Linked DNA regions of Homo sapiens: region 1 is linked to region 2. Evidence: promoter capture Hi-C in 16 types of primary human blood cells and fetal thymus (Javierre and others, 2016). All regions are on one chromosome and are shown on one strand. Each heading gives the region's core, a stretch centred on a gene start or on the middle of the fragment in contact. The rest is flanking DNA. Distances are from core to core; before and after follow the strand shown. Region 1 holds the start of PCNP (PEST proteolytic signal containing nuclear protein). Region 2 holds the start of DCBLD2 (discoidin, CUB and LCCL domain containing 2).

What was found. The method cuts DNA at HindIII sites, captures the fragments that hold promoters and counts their contacts. A CHiCAGO score of 5 or more calls a contact.
Region 1: a contact is called between a fragment that was not itself captured here and the fragment with the promoter of DCBLD2 in region 2, in 1 of 17 cell types (fetal thymus). The highest score is 5.0, in fetal thymus.

The regions. Positions count from the first base shown.
Region 1 is chr3:101,567,752-101,574,974 of GRCh38, forward strand. PCNP (PEST proteolytic signal containing nuclear protein) reads left to right here and starts at 6,429. Exons shown (of 5, transcript NM_020357.3): 1 at 6,429-6,528. The coding sequence starts at 6,465. RefSeq lists enhancers at 5,640-6,585, 6,029-6,298, 6,399-6,528, 6,609-6,768, 6,789-6,948. The HindIII fragment of the contact is 1,391 bases long and covers 2,962-4,352 here.
Region 2 is chr3:98,898,458-98,905,821 of GRCh38, forward strand. It overlaps DCBLD2 (discoidin, CUB and LCCL domain containing 2), which reads right to left and starts at 3,238. Exons shown (of 16, transcript NM_080927.4): 1 at 2,665-3,238. The coding sequence starts at 2,869. It overlaps LOC105374002 (a long non-coding RNA gene), which reads left to right and starts at 3,557. Exons shown (of 2, transcript NR_189121.1): 1 at 3,557-4,060; 2 at 6,436-6,939. RefSeq lists enhancers at 2,137-2,853, 2,854-3,569 and silencers at 2,677-3,366, 3,507-3,556. The HindIII fragment of the contact is 5,361 bases long and covers 467-5,827 here.

The DNA of each region.
Region 1 (7,223 bases), core at 2,407-4,906, 2.7 Mb after region 2:
TTTTACCAGAGGATCAGAGGATCTGACTCATTCTCCACCCCCCACCCCCATGGTTTTGTATATTTATTCTTTGTGAAAACACGTAACAAACTTTTTCCTCCAGCCCAGATATAGATCTCAGATGGGTGATTTTTTTTTTCCCTCCCCTCCTTGGATGATTTCTTTTCTTCCTCTGTCTCTGATTCTTGTTGTCTTTTCTTGCCCACTTGCTACCACCGCCCCATTTGGGGATCTTCCTCTTGTCTTCTTCTCCTCCCACCTGCCCCACCCCACCCCAAATTGGATTCAGTTTAAAATGATGACTTTGGCTATGTCGAGAATAGATTATGAGAGAGACCAGTTAGGAGGCTATTGCAGTAACAAAAGTGAGAGATAATAGTAGGTTGTAGGAGGGTGGTAACAGAGTAGGTAGTGAGACACAGTCAGATCTGAATGTGTTTAGTAAGAGAGAAAATTTAGGGAAGACTTCAAGATTGTTGACTAGAGAAACTGGAAGGACTTGTTACTATTTACCGAAATGCAGAAGCTTTGAGGGGGCAGGTAATCCAAAGTTAACTTTGGGACATTTTACAGTTGCCTATTAGATGTCCAAGTGGAGATATCAAGTGGTCAGTTGGATATATGAGCCTGGAGTTCAGAGACAAGGTCTGGCTGGAGATGTTAATAATGTAATTAGTTAAATGCTCCAGACTAGTTGAGGCCATCTAGGGAGTCTGTGTGGATAAAGATATCAGATGTCTGAGCCCTAAGGTACTCCAACATTTAGAGGTGTGAGAGATGAGAAGAACCCAGCAAGTAAGACTGAGGTAGAGCAACCAGTAAGAAAAGAGAGAAAATGTCCTGGAGGCAAAATGAAAAAAAGTGTTTCATGCTGCAGATCAGGTAAGATGAAGTCTGAGAGCTGACCACTGAATGTAGGAATGAGGACATTGCTGATTATCTTGACAACAGCAATTTCAATAGAGGATTGAAAAGAAAGCCAACTGGAGTAGGTTTAAAAGAGAATGGACAAGGCCGGGTGTGGTGGCTCAGGCCTGTAATCCCAGCACTTTGGGAGGCCGAGGCAGGCAGATCACCTGAGGTCGGAAGTTCGAGACTACCCTGACGAACATGGAGAAACACCATCTCTACTAAAAATACAAAAAAAATTAGCCGGGCATGGTGGTGCATGTCTGTAATCCCAGCTACTTGGGAGGCTGAGGCAGGAGAATCGCTTGAACCCTGGAGGTGGAGGTTGCGGTGAGCCGAGATCACACCATTGCACTCCAGCCTAGGCAATAAGAGCAAAACTCCTCAAAAAAAAAAAAAAAAAAAAGGAAATGGACAGGCGGAGCACGGTGGCTCAAAGGTCAGGAGTTTGAGACCAGCCTGGCCAACATGGTGAAACCCCAGCTCTACTAAAAATACAAAAATTAAAATTAGCCAGGTGTTGTGGCACAGGCCTGTAATCCCAGCTACTCAGGAGACTGAGACAGAAGAACTGCTTGAAGCCAGGAGGCGGGGGTTGCAGTGAGCCGAGACTGTGCCACTATACTCCAGCCTGAGTGACAGAGCAAGACTCCGTCTCAAAAAAAACAAAAACGAAAAGAAGGGACGGGACTAGGTGTGGTGGCTCATACCTGTACTCCCAGTACTTTGGGAGGCCAAGGCAGGTGGATCCCTTGAGTCCAGGAGTTTGAGACCAGCCTGGGCAACATTGTGAAACCCTGTCTCTACAAAACTTAGCCAGGGATGGTGGTGTTCACCTTTAGTCCCAGCTACTTGGCGGGCTAAGCCAGGAGGATCGTTTGAGCGTGTGATGTGGAGGTTGCAGTGAGCCAAGATCATGTCATTGCATTCCAGGTTGGGTAACAGAGCAAGACCCTGTCTCAAAAGATAAAAAAAAGAATGGACAGAGATATAGGAGACAGAGTATGAACAATCTTTTCAAAGTTTCTATATGAAGGAAAATAGGAATGAGGAGCTACAGGAAGATATGAGATCAAGAGAAGAGTCTTTTACTAAGATAGGAGACATAAAAGCATGTATGTATGATGTTGGGAATGTTTCAATAGTAGAAAGAAAAATCGGATGGAACAATAGTGATGTGTGTAAACAAGGACAGGCTCCACTTCATAAGTAACAGAACACATAGTATATAGGTATAAATGCAGGTACCACACCTCAGATATGGTTGAGAATATATAGAAGTTCTGTTTGATTACTATTATTTTCTCACTGAAAATAAAAAGCAAAATCATCCCAAGTGGGAGGACGTAATGGACATTTTTGGAGAGCCAACAAAACATGAAATAGTATAGGAAAGTGAGTGAATTAGGGCAGTGGTTCTCAAAGTGTGGTTCCCCAACGAGCAGCATCAGCATTACTTGGGAACTAGTTAGAAATGCAAATTTTAGGGCTCCAGCCATTGAGTCAACTGAATCAGAAACTGGCAATGGGGCCCAGCAATCTGTTTTAACATGTCCTTCAGGTGATTCTGATGTACACTGAAATTGAGAATAGTCTGAGGACATGTAATAGAATTATAAGGCTACATTAAGAACCTACTTAATGGCTCATGCCTGTAATCCGAGAATTTTGGGAGGCTAAGGCAGGAGGATCACTTCAGCCCAGGAGTTCAAGGCTGCAGTGAGCTATGAGCCACTGTACTCTAACCTGGGCAACAGAACGAGATCCTGTCTCAAAACAAAAACAAAAACAAAACAAAAAAAAGAACCTACTTAAGGTTAGTGAAATCAAGATTAGCCACTTTTCTTCTCCACTCTAATTTTTTTTTTTTTTTTTTTGGTAGCTCTTGGCCTGAATTTCAAGTTCAGCTCCACTTCTTACTTATCTTTTCCGTGCCCAAATTCCCTCTTCCATAAAAATGGGAGTAACAGTAGCACTTAATTCACAGGGTTGTAATGATTTAATGTACTGAATTTCATGTAGAATACCTGCAACAATGCTTGGTGTATAGTAAGCTTGAATAAATGTTAGATATTATAGTTGTCGCCTCACAAATTACACATCTAAATTAAAATAATAATTGCTCATATTACCTTCCATTTCCAGCCTTTTAAACCACTTAAATAGCTCACTAGAGGTTATAATCCATAGCTACTATGAAGCAAGCTCTCACCATGGCCAGGCAGCATATTATAGATTTAACCTTTATTATCCCAATGCCCTCAGTAACCCTATATGTATTATTCCATTTGTATAGTTATAACATATTCCATAACATTGTTATCCAGTACAAACTCACAGAATTAGCAAAATGCAGAATTAGAATTTAAGTCGAGTTTTTGTGTGGTGCAAAACTAATGCTCTTTGCCTTGGACTACATTGCCTATTCATTGTCAGAAAACGGTACCCCAAAATTTGGTGCTTTGACATGCTGAACTAGAGAAGCAGCCGCAAGGTTTCTCTGATCTCCCCACCCCACCTCCTGCCTCTCAATCCTCTGCCTCCCCCAAAACACGGGATAAGACTGTTCTTTGAAGTTTCTTATCTACCTAGAAACCACACACATCAAAGAACACAATTGCTTTCTATCTGCTTCCTCCCTGAAATTTCATTAACCAGAAGAAATTAAAACATATCACAAAGCCAGATACAGTGGTGCACACATGTAGTCCCAGCTACCTGTGAGTCTCAGATGGGAGGATTCTTGAGGCCAGGAGTTTGAGGCTGTAGTGTGCTATCATCATGCCTGTGAATAGCCACCACACTCCAGCCTGGGCAACACAGTGCGACCTGGTCTCATAAAAAAACAAAACTCACATCATAGAGGAAGAGACTGAAAATTAACCACCACACTTAGAGCCCAAACTTTGCCTCAAACTACTGTTTTTTGTTTTTGAGACAGGGTCTCACTCTGTCACCCAGGTTGGAGTGCAGTGGCGAGATCTTGGCTCACTGCAACCTTGCCTCCGGGGCTCAAGTGATCCTTCTATCTCAGCCTCCCTAGTAGCTGGGATTATGGGAGTGAGTCACCACGACTGGCCTTCGAATTATTATTGGTTCTCTAGTTTCACTTGGTTTACAAAGAGAATAATTTACAAGTGAATTTCTGCATTAATCTCTCCTAAAATCATTTACTACTCCTCTAAAATTGCCTGTAGCCCCCCCACCTCTCTCTCCCCTATGAAAAGTATTAAACTTCAACCATCTGACCCTTTTTTTAGTTTTCTTATTTTGTTGTATCATTCCCATGCTTATGCACATTAATTTTCTCTTGTTAACCTGTCTTTTATTAACAAGCATGTTGTCATGACTCTTTTGATGGGGAGGAAAGTGATCACCCCCTTTCCACCCCTTCATACTACACTACCTTTCCATTTCCTAACCCGTTTGTAGGAGGTTACTGAAGCTTGCATTAATTTCTTCAATAGATATTTATCCAGACTAGTATAATCCAGGTGCTGGGGAAACAGTGGTGAACAAGACAGGCACACCTCATGAAACTCACAGAACTGAAAGGTGAATGGATTACTATCTTCATCCTTTTTTTGTTTCGTTTTTTTCCTTTCATACCTAGTCCTGCACATGCATCCTTAACTTCTGCAGTGTGGTATATGGGAACTGGATCCGCTCCTAAATAGGTATGTGACTTCTCTGAGCTTTATCTTCTTCACTTAAAAATTACAAGCATCGGCCGGGCACGGTGGCTCACGCCTGTAATCCCAGCACTTAGGGAGGCTAAGGTGGGCGGATCACAAAGTCAGGAGTTCGAGACCAGCCTGGCCAACATAGTGAAACCCCGTCTCTACTAAAAATACAAACATTAGCCGGGTGTGGTGGCACGCGCCTGTTGTCCCAGCTACTCGAGAGGCTGAGGCAGGAGAATCGCTTGAACCCAGGAGGCGGAGGTTGCAGTGAGCCAAGACCATGCCATTGCACTCCAGCCTGGGTGACAGAATGAGAGACTCCATTCCACCCCCCATAAAAAATTACAAGCATCTGTAAATACATAATCTCAAATAAAAATCTTCGTGTATATCTCCATTTTTAAAATGATAGAAACGAGAGTCTCAATGATTACCTTGAAAAGATCACAAGGAAAATGAAACAAACATGAATTAAGTACCTGTAAGATAGTTTGCTGGTTACTTTTACATATATGATAAATGATGGATCAGGGACTTCAACCTAGATCACAAAATCACCACCACACTGCCCTGCTTCTGTCATGGGAAACACACTTTGATAATTTCTTCATTCTTTCTCCACTCCCTGGACTTGAAGCCCGAGAAGTAATCCATCCGCAAATATTGAACACTTTTTATATTCATATATGAAACGCACAGTACACAGTTTTTAAAAACTGGTCTCTGTTGTCAAGGAACTTTTGAGCCATTCAGAGAGACAACACTTAAAACACACACACACACACACACACACACAAACTGAGGGAAGTATGAAGTGACCAAATAATGGTATACAAAGATGATCTCATTTGATCCCTATTACCACTCTTTGAGGAGGTACTATTATTATTGCTCTTTTATAGAGAAGAAAAGGTAGCTCTGTAGGCAGTAAGCAAGTCTCAAGGTTACTCAAGCAGGAAAGGGCAAAACAGATTCAAATCCAAGTTCTGACTCCTAAGACTTTCTCTAACTATATATGGTAAGACAAACCCAGAAACTCCAGTTCCCTAAGCAAGTAATAGACCCCATTTGGCTAGGAGGGCTGGATAAATACTGAGAAAGGGGGAAGATGAAGCCGAAAAGGTAGGCTAGGGCCTAATGTAACTCACGGACTTCAGAATGCAGACTGTAGGAATCCACTAAAGGTTTCTTATTAAGGCAGAAATTACTGCAGTCTTAACTTGACATAGTAGTTTCTCAACTTGGTAGAAGCAGACTATACAAAAAGTAACTTTACAGTTGGCTACGTGACTTAGACAAATTACTCTCTCTGACCTCAACTCTTACAGGTAATTGAGAGGAGAATTCTATATTTGGACAATCGCCGTGATTAAACGAGTGTATGAAAGGCGTCTGAAGCTAGGGGGCGCTAGATAAACACTGATTTCCCCTTTAGGGAAAAAGAATGCAGGCTTTTTGTTTACATAGAGTTGGCAGGCATGCGTTATCCAGCAAGGCCGGAACGGAAGACACTCTCAGCCTCAGCTGCAACCACATCTGGGTATGCAGAAACCTTCTAAGATCCCAGCGTTTCCAGGGAGATGCTCCATTTCCCCTCACTTCTCCGGACCTGTCGCTAGACCATGAAGACCTGACTGCCCTCTAATAAAGTGCCTAGCCAGCACTCTTAGACCGCCCAACCTTCCCAGCTCTTCCTTCCGAGGCGGCTACTCGATGACATCACATCCACTTCCGCTTCCGAAGGCGGCCTCTTTTCATTCCTCGGGACCGCTCTAGGCTGCCACCACGCCGGCTGGCCCCAAAAACTCGATGGTTGTTGGGCGGGGTCGTGACGTCCTTGGCGTGGCTGCAGGGGAGGCCGCGGCGGGGAAAATGGCGGACGGGAAGGCGGGAGACGAGAAGCCTGAAAAGTCGCAGCGAGCTGGAGCCGCCGGAGGTGAACACAACCCCAGCGTCGTGGGCAGCGTGGGATGCTCCGGGCCTTTCTTTGAGCTCCCAGGGTGGGGGGAGTGGGGTGGGGCGAGAATGGGCGGATCTGGACCTCACCCGGCCAGGTGTTGGGCCCAGACCTGCCTCGGGCACGCCCGATGCGGCCCTCTGGGCTCCGGGCCTACATCGCCTCCTTGCCTGGGGAGAGCCGGCCACTGTTCGTCACCTCCTGGCCCCAGCGGAGGCCCTGATTCCGAGGAGAAGGGAGATGGGCGCCAGAAAGGGAGACCGAACTCGGGGTGGGACCAGGAGCGGCGGTGCAGGAGCCGCTACCGCCACACCGGAGACGCACATCACACAAAACACACACACCGGAGACGCTCATGAGACATAACATACACACAGTGCGAGCCACCGAGTAGTTGCCGCGGGAACTGGCCGCAGGCTGAGTTTCTGACGGTGCCGGCCTCTCAGTTACACGCAGGAGTTAATTACGCTTGCTGCTCCCTTTTCACTGAGGAGGTGGACAACTCCGGCCTGCTCTCTTTCCTTTACTTCCAAGTTTAATATTGACCCTGTGACAGGATGGGCCGAGGTGATGGAGGGGAAGAGGAATGCCTTTGCCTGCCCTCTGGTTTAAGCTGCGGGGTCTAGGGCTAAGGTTTGGTTGCTTTTCTTTGAAGTATCTCCCTTAGGCTGTTG
Region 2 (7,364 bases), core at 1,988-4,487:
TGCAGTTTAATTTTTATTCTGACTATATGCGAATTACAGAAAATTTAGAAAAGTATAAAGAAATGTCCCACAATTTTACCACCAAAAGACAACAACTGTCAACAGTTTATTTCCTTCCAGTCTTAAGACTTCTTATAGAGTAAAAACTCTACCTTGTAGCTGAACATTACAACATGTACAAATCCCATTAAAAATTCTAAAGGTGTTTTAAACAGACTTCTTTTCAGGTTATGTGAGGGAATATCAGTAGACCCTAAAGAACATCTGTTAGACTGGGAAGACTGGCTTAAAAGGAATTCCACCACGGGCTGCTTTAGGGTCCTTTGAGTAAAAAATTTAATTTTTAAAAATGAGAAAATTCAAATCTCAAATAATTGTGAGTTTTCAGATGATGTATACCTAATTAGCTCTTAATTTATCAACTTAGTAAGATCGAGATTAGTAATAATCATTTATAGCTATTTTAAGCTTTTCCCTTTGCAAAATTCCTGCATACTATCATTTCATTTATATTAAGCTATGAGATAGGTATGCATGCTCACCTTAATGATGTAGAAAACTGAGGTACAAAGAGATTAAATATTAAATGATTTAGCAAAATTTACCCAAGCAATTTAGAAGAACTAAAAAAAAAAAAAGTCTTTTAATTATCAGAATCATTTCTATTTATGTTGATGTTTACATAAGATGACACTGTTAAAGAGAAATGTATTTGTTAAAATGTTCTGGTAAAAAAAAATTATATTAAACCTTAAAAAATGAAGTAATGTTGCTTGTCTGATTAGACTGGCTATTTCTTTTTCTTTTTTTTTTTTTTTTTTTGAGACAGTCTCGCTCTGTCGCCAGGCTGGAGTGCAGTGGCGCGATCGCTGCAACCTCCGCCTCCCGGGTTCAAGCGATTCCCCTGCCTCAGCCTCCTGAGTACCTGGGACTACAGGCATGTGCCACCATGCCCGGCTAATTTTTTGTATTTTAGGAGAGACGGGGTTTCACCATGTTGGTCAGGATGGTCTCGATCTCCTGACCTCGTGATCTGCCCGCCTCAGCCTCCCAAAGTGCTCGGATTACAGGTGTGAGCCACCGCGCCCGGTAGACTGGCCTTTTCTAAAAACAAGGCAATCCCTCATTTGGAAGGTAGACATGTAACTGATTCTATACTGTTCCAAGATTTTTTTTAATAACATGATACAAACACTATCAGATCCAGAAACAAGCAAAGCAGAGTACTCTGCCTATGGAGTAATATGCCCTCCTGCATCAAGGTACCTTATATTCTTTGTGTCTCAATGTCCTTACGTTTGAACTGGGATAACAATAACTATCTCAGCTGATTGTAGTGAAGATTCAAGGAGTTAATAAACCCAAACCACTTAGTCCAGTTGTTCCAGCCACAAAGTAAGCCCTAAGTGTTAGCCATATATAAGCCTGTTTTCCCCCCTACCAGGAGGGAAATACATCTCTACAGTGGAAAGAAGGATTTCACACTTTAATATATTAAATGATGATGATGTTCAGTAATTTTAGAAGACGATCTAACTAAAACCTAAATGCTAAGCATCTAAATTTTGAGTTACTCTATATAGAAACGTGTCTAGATGTAAGGGGTCAGTTTGCCAAATACATTTTTTCCTTATAGTTACAGAGATTATATTTCCACATGCCTGTCAAGGTTCGGCATCTTCTTAATGACAGGCCATGATTCCATACTTCACTGAAAACCATGAGAGCAACATAAAGCTGGGCTTAAAGGCAGAGAACAATTTTCTTTTTAAAAAACTCTCTTCCTAGCAATAAGTAACAATCCAATCCTTATCCTTCCCACTGCAATAAAATGGAAAATGCAATGGAAATATCTTTTCAAAAACTGATGCCAAACTGATTCAAAAAGTGTGGTACACTACGGGAAAACAGTACTAAAGGGGAAAAGAAATCACCCTGCATTCTCCTTCCATTATGATAAGTATTTAATAAACAGTTTTGCCTGTTTCTGGAACAGGTTTTTCAAGGATTGTAGGTGGAAAAAAAAAAAAGTTTTGTCACTTTCTGGAAAGGCTTACCTTTTTAATGTGGAGAGCTTCACTTGGGCAAATTAGCATAGCGTTGGGTCAGACCCAGTGTTTGACCAAGGCAGTCTAGACCACCAGCCTCAATGATGGATTGTAAAGAACATGTTCTGAATCCAAGACTCAGAGATAAGCAGAAACTATTCCATTCGCTTCAGAACCCGGGCTCTTTCACAAAGGATCATAATTACCACCACTTACCTTTAATAGGCTTAAGATGCTATTTAATTAACCTGCCTTCCTACAGTGTCCATCCATCCGTGCAGCTTAACTTTAGGGGTCATTACCTCCAAAGGTTCTTTTTCCTCCCCAAAATTTTCCCCAGAAGGACCTAATATCAACGAGGCTTTCATAGCAGGGTCTCACGTCCCCCTTTCAGAAAAATAAATGGCCTTGCCAAAAAGTAAAGCCGCGCCAACTTGGGGGACAGACGGGCAAGACCTTGCCTTTGCAACTCAACCCCGTGAGTACCCAGCCAGGTCCGGCCACGCACGAAAGCGCACCGCGCCTCCCTGCAGCGTCTGCAGATTTGTTCAGGGGCCAAGAGACCCGCAGCCCCGACGGAGGTTCCCCCGCCGCTCACTCCCCTGGGACCACTCACCTTGCTGGGCTCCAGCGTCCTCGAGCAGCAGGAGCAGGACAAGTAAGAGCAGGAGGAACAGAGGCATGGAGAAGGAGGAGGAGTTGGAGCAGGGAGGGAGGGAGCGGGAGAGGGGGAGCGCGGCCCAGGCGGGGGCGGCGGCCGCGGCCCGGACTTGGGGACACTGCGGGCAGCGCCTGGCTCTCACCACCGCCCGGCTCGCCATCGCGGCGGCCGGCAGTCTGCCTGCATAGTGCGGGTGCCTCGGCAGCCCCGCGCGCCTCTGGCCGCGGCACCCGACCAGGAGACGGCGGCAGCGGCGGGAGAACAAGAGGCAGCCCTCGCCTCACCCCGCGCCGGGACCCTTCCGCCCCTCACCCCGCTTTCACCTACTCCTCCTTCGTCCCTTCCCTCCGCTCCCCGCGCCGAGACCCCAGGCCGGAGCGCAGGGGAGGGGAGGGAAGGAAGCGGAGTCCTCGAGCCGCGGAGGACGGCCGCGGCGGAGCTAAGGAACGTGCCTCCCGCGCCGCGCTCCTCACCAGGGTCGCCGCTCGCCGCGCTCACCCGCGGCTCCGGCTAGCTGGCAGGCAGGCCCGCAGCCAGCTCCCTCGCGCTCCCTCTCGCGCGCGCCGGCCACGCCCCCTAGGCACCGCGGCCAATCCTCGGCCAGCTCTGGTCCGTCTCCTTCCGCGAAACCCAATCAGCATGCTCGCTCCTCGCTCGACCCGCTAGTTCTCCGGCCCATTCCTCGAGCTCCACCGCCCCTTACCTCCCTCTTCCAATCCCCTTCGGCCTTTGGAGGCGTCCCACCCGCCTCCTCCAATCCAGGTCCCGCCCTCCAGCTTCGGATCCCCGCGGCCCCCGCCCGGCCCGGGCGCCTGTTATTGTTGGGCCCTCAGCCCAAACTGATCCCGCAGAGGCGGCAGCCAGCTCGTCAGTGACTTCCGGGACGTCCCCCATCCCGCGCTCCCTGCTCCTCAGGCCCAGCTTGCTCCTTGCTCCTTTCTCCTCGCTCCTCCGACGCACATCAGACCACTGGAAGGGGGTGGGAAACCTGGATCCTGGGTTGTTTTAGCTGGGAGCTGAGTCTAAGGGACTTTTTTTTTTTTTTTAATGGCAGAGCGTGGCTTGTTTTGTTAAAACTGCCGCCAGTTGTTGCAACAGCTCCGAGTTAGAATAATAGATGCAGTGTTCAGTTTTTAATATATGTGTTCCCTGTTTTCTCTGCTCTTTTTATGGCGGGGGGTGGGGGACAAAAAAGTGTAAAACAAGATCCGTGCCGCAAAGGCAATTTAAACCTAACATCCCAACCTTCATGCAGCCATTCTACAAGGAGTTGTTGAGCACCTGCTGTCTATCTACAGAAATCTTGAAATGTGGAACAGAGATGGAAATATAGCATGCAAGTCAGAATGAAGTAAGTGCTAATTAGAGTCACAAGCAGTTTGATGGAGACTGTAAGCCTATGGAACGACAAAAAGAATTTTAGGAAAGAGGAATGCAGAGGTCTACGCAGTGATTTATTTTAGAAGAGAGTGGCCATGTAGGATGTTTTTAACAGCAGTCCCTGAAAGGACAATGGTGTCATTAGCAAATACAAAAAACTGCTAAGGTGGAACAAGTTGTGTGGGAAAGTAAGTTAATTTTGGACGTATTGAATTTGAGATGCCAACTTAGATAATAAGTGAAGCTATGTAACAGGCAGATGGATATTTTAGTCGAAAGCTCAGATTGAGAGCTTTGAAATTATGGCTCTGGGAGTCATACATAGCCATACATGTATACATATACATATGTATACATAGTCATACATAGATGTGATATTCAAAAACATGGAAGGGACTGATATCCTTCAATGAAAGTCTAAGTTGGAAAGGACTTTGGAGGTCGTATGTTTCAACTCCCCTGCATATTTCTTATACAATAATCTCTTTAACCAAATTTATTCAATTAACATTTATTAAATGCCTAAGAAACCCTATTATGCTCTAAGCCATTGTGGGCATTGGGCATAAAAAGTTTACTGAGAAGAACTTACATTCTGGAGGAGGAGGTGACATGTAAACAAACCTATTGTTATTAGTGCCCTGTTAGAGGTGTGGACTGGTGCCACAATACCACAGTGAACGGAGTTCAAAAAAACCCGTCAGTTTGAAATGCCAGTGTCTTGAATAAGAAACTAAAGTGAAAAAGGTGATCTCAGGCCAGAGGCAAAATAGGCTGGGTCACAGGCTCAATAGGGAATGGTGTTGATGGAGCTGGATTGACTACTGCTGACGTAATGGGAGGAACTGGAGACTAGTCTGGAAAAGTTAGGAGGGGCAAGATGTAAGGCAAGCTAAGAGTCAAGATTTTATTTTGTATCACTGGAAAATAACTAAAGGGTTCTAAGAAAGAATGACATTGTCAGTTTTTTTTTTGTTTTTGTTTTTGTTTTTGTTTTTTTTGAGATGGAGTTTTGCTCTTGTTGCCCAGGCTGGAGTGCAATGGCATGATCTCGGCTCACTGCAACCTCTGCCTCCCGGGTTCAAGCGATTCTCCTGCCTCAGTCTCCCTAGTAGCTGGGATTACAGGCATGTGCCACCGCACCCGGCTAATTTTGTATTTTTAGTAGAGCCGGGGTTTCTCCATTGTTGGTCAGGCTGGTCTCGAACTCCCGACCTCAGGTGATCCACCCGCCTCAGCCTCCCAAAGTGCTGGGATAACGGCGTGAGCCATCGCGCCCGGTCATTATCAGGTTTTTATTGTAAAAACCCCAATCAGCCAGTAGGGTGAGGAATACATTGGTGTAAGAGCAAGACTGGAAGCCAGGGAGAGCCAGTCTGCAGTTAAAGGGAGTGATGGTGAGTTTTTAGTGCATTAAAAGTGGGCTTGGGAAGGCGGGACCAACTAGGGGAATATTTTTAAACTTGGTGACTGATTATGTGGAGTGTAAGGAGTTGAGGAAGTCTCCAGGTTTCTGGTAGAAGGTGATGTCTTTCCCACAGTAAGGAGTACAAGAAGGAGAATTGGTTTGGTTGGATAAAGAAGTAGAAGTTAAAAATCATAAATTCAGAATTGAACCTATCAGACATGATGTGCTAATGTGGCAAGCAGTCAGTCATGAAATAAGATTTCTAGTAGTAGTGCCTGAGACAACCTATTTCATGTGGAATCACTCCTTTCATAGGACCATTGAAAGAGAAGCTTGAGGTCACAGATGTGGTGGCAGAGCAAGGTAGTGTGAATCTTAGCCTGGCATTCTATTGACTACATAGAACTGTGGCAGAGGCAGAGAATTCACCTAAGAACTAGCACAGTTATGGAGCATTTCTGGAAGAGGCAAAATTTGGTCTCTAGCAACCCCTACCCCTTTAATATAGCAGGAAAAGATCCCGACTACATACGTGTAAAGCAAGAGGAAGGAGCACTTACATTTCTCATCACTGTTTTACTTACTGTCTAGTGTTTTAAAGTTGTTAAAAGTAGAGACTAGAGAGGTGAAGAGGTTCTGAATTAGGTCACTGGCAGGGAAAAAGAGAGGGAGGTGGGAGCAAGTTGGAGTTATATTTAAAGCAGCAAAATCAGAAGGTCTTAGTGACTGATGCCATTTGACTATTTCTGTGTTATTTTATGCCTCAGCTTCCGGAGTTTCGCTTTGGAAGACAGGGTCTGGAAGTCTGGCTAGAGAACATTTGTGGTGCCCCCTATTGCTTTATGTATATAGAAAATTACAAATATAGCACAGATGTGGGAGAGGATTGATGCTGTTGCACCCATATTCTCTCTTCTGATTATTGTCTCTCTACTTAGTTGCCAAACAATGACAGAAGGCTGCTCTGAAATGATCAAAATTTTCTCCTGGGACCTCACACCAAAGGAATATAATAGGCATTCATTTCTAAGACAATGCGGGTAAAGTGGAATTCTAGTTTATATTACCTTTCTTATTCTCTGCATGCTGCTCTAGACAACTTTGTCATGATCCTTGCTTCTGGGGACTTGGTTTGTTTGGGGAATGACATCTTATGAGGCAGTGGGAGCAATACTTGTCCAGGACCATTTTACCCATGCAACCCAGATGCATAACCCAGGGGCAGAACTGGGGATTCTAATCAAGTCTCAAAGTGGATAGGTTTGGAGAGGGCCATCATTGTAGCACATAGAGGCTCCAAGAAGCTACAGTTCCTCCACAAGGCAAGCCCAGGTTCTGGCTTCTTTTTACAGGGTTTCAAAAGTGTGTATTATTTTATTGTATTTCTGGTTGTTTACTCTACATTAAGATATTTAAAAATAAAAATAGATTCTCAACCTAAATTTTAATTTTTTATCTCTCTTCCTCTTTTTCTCATTCTTTATTTCATGTTTCTTAATCAGTAAAGAATGGAAGAATAGGCCGGGCGCGGTAGCTTACACCTGTAATCCCAGCACTTTGGGAGGCCGAAGCGGGCGGATCACGAGGTCAGGAGATCGAGACCATCCTGGCTAACACAGTGAAACCCTGTCTCTACTAAAAATACAAAAAATTAGCCGGGCATGGTGGCGGGCGCCTGTAGTCCCAGCTACTCGGGAGGCTGAGGCAGGAGAATGGCGTGAACTCGTGAGGCGGAGCTTGCAGTGAGCCGAGATTGCTCCACTGCACTCCAGCCTGGGTGACAGAGCAAGACTCCCTCTCAAAAAAAAAAAAAAAAAAAAAGACCGGGTGCAGTGGCTCATGCCTGTAATCCCAGCACTTTGGGAGG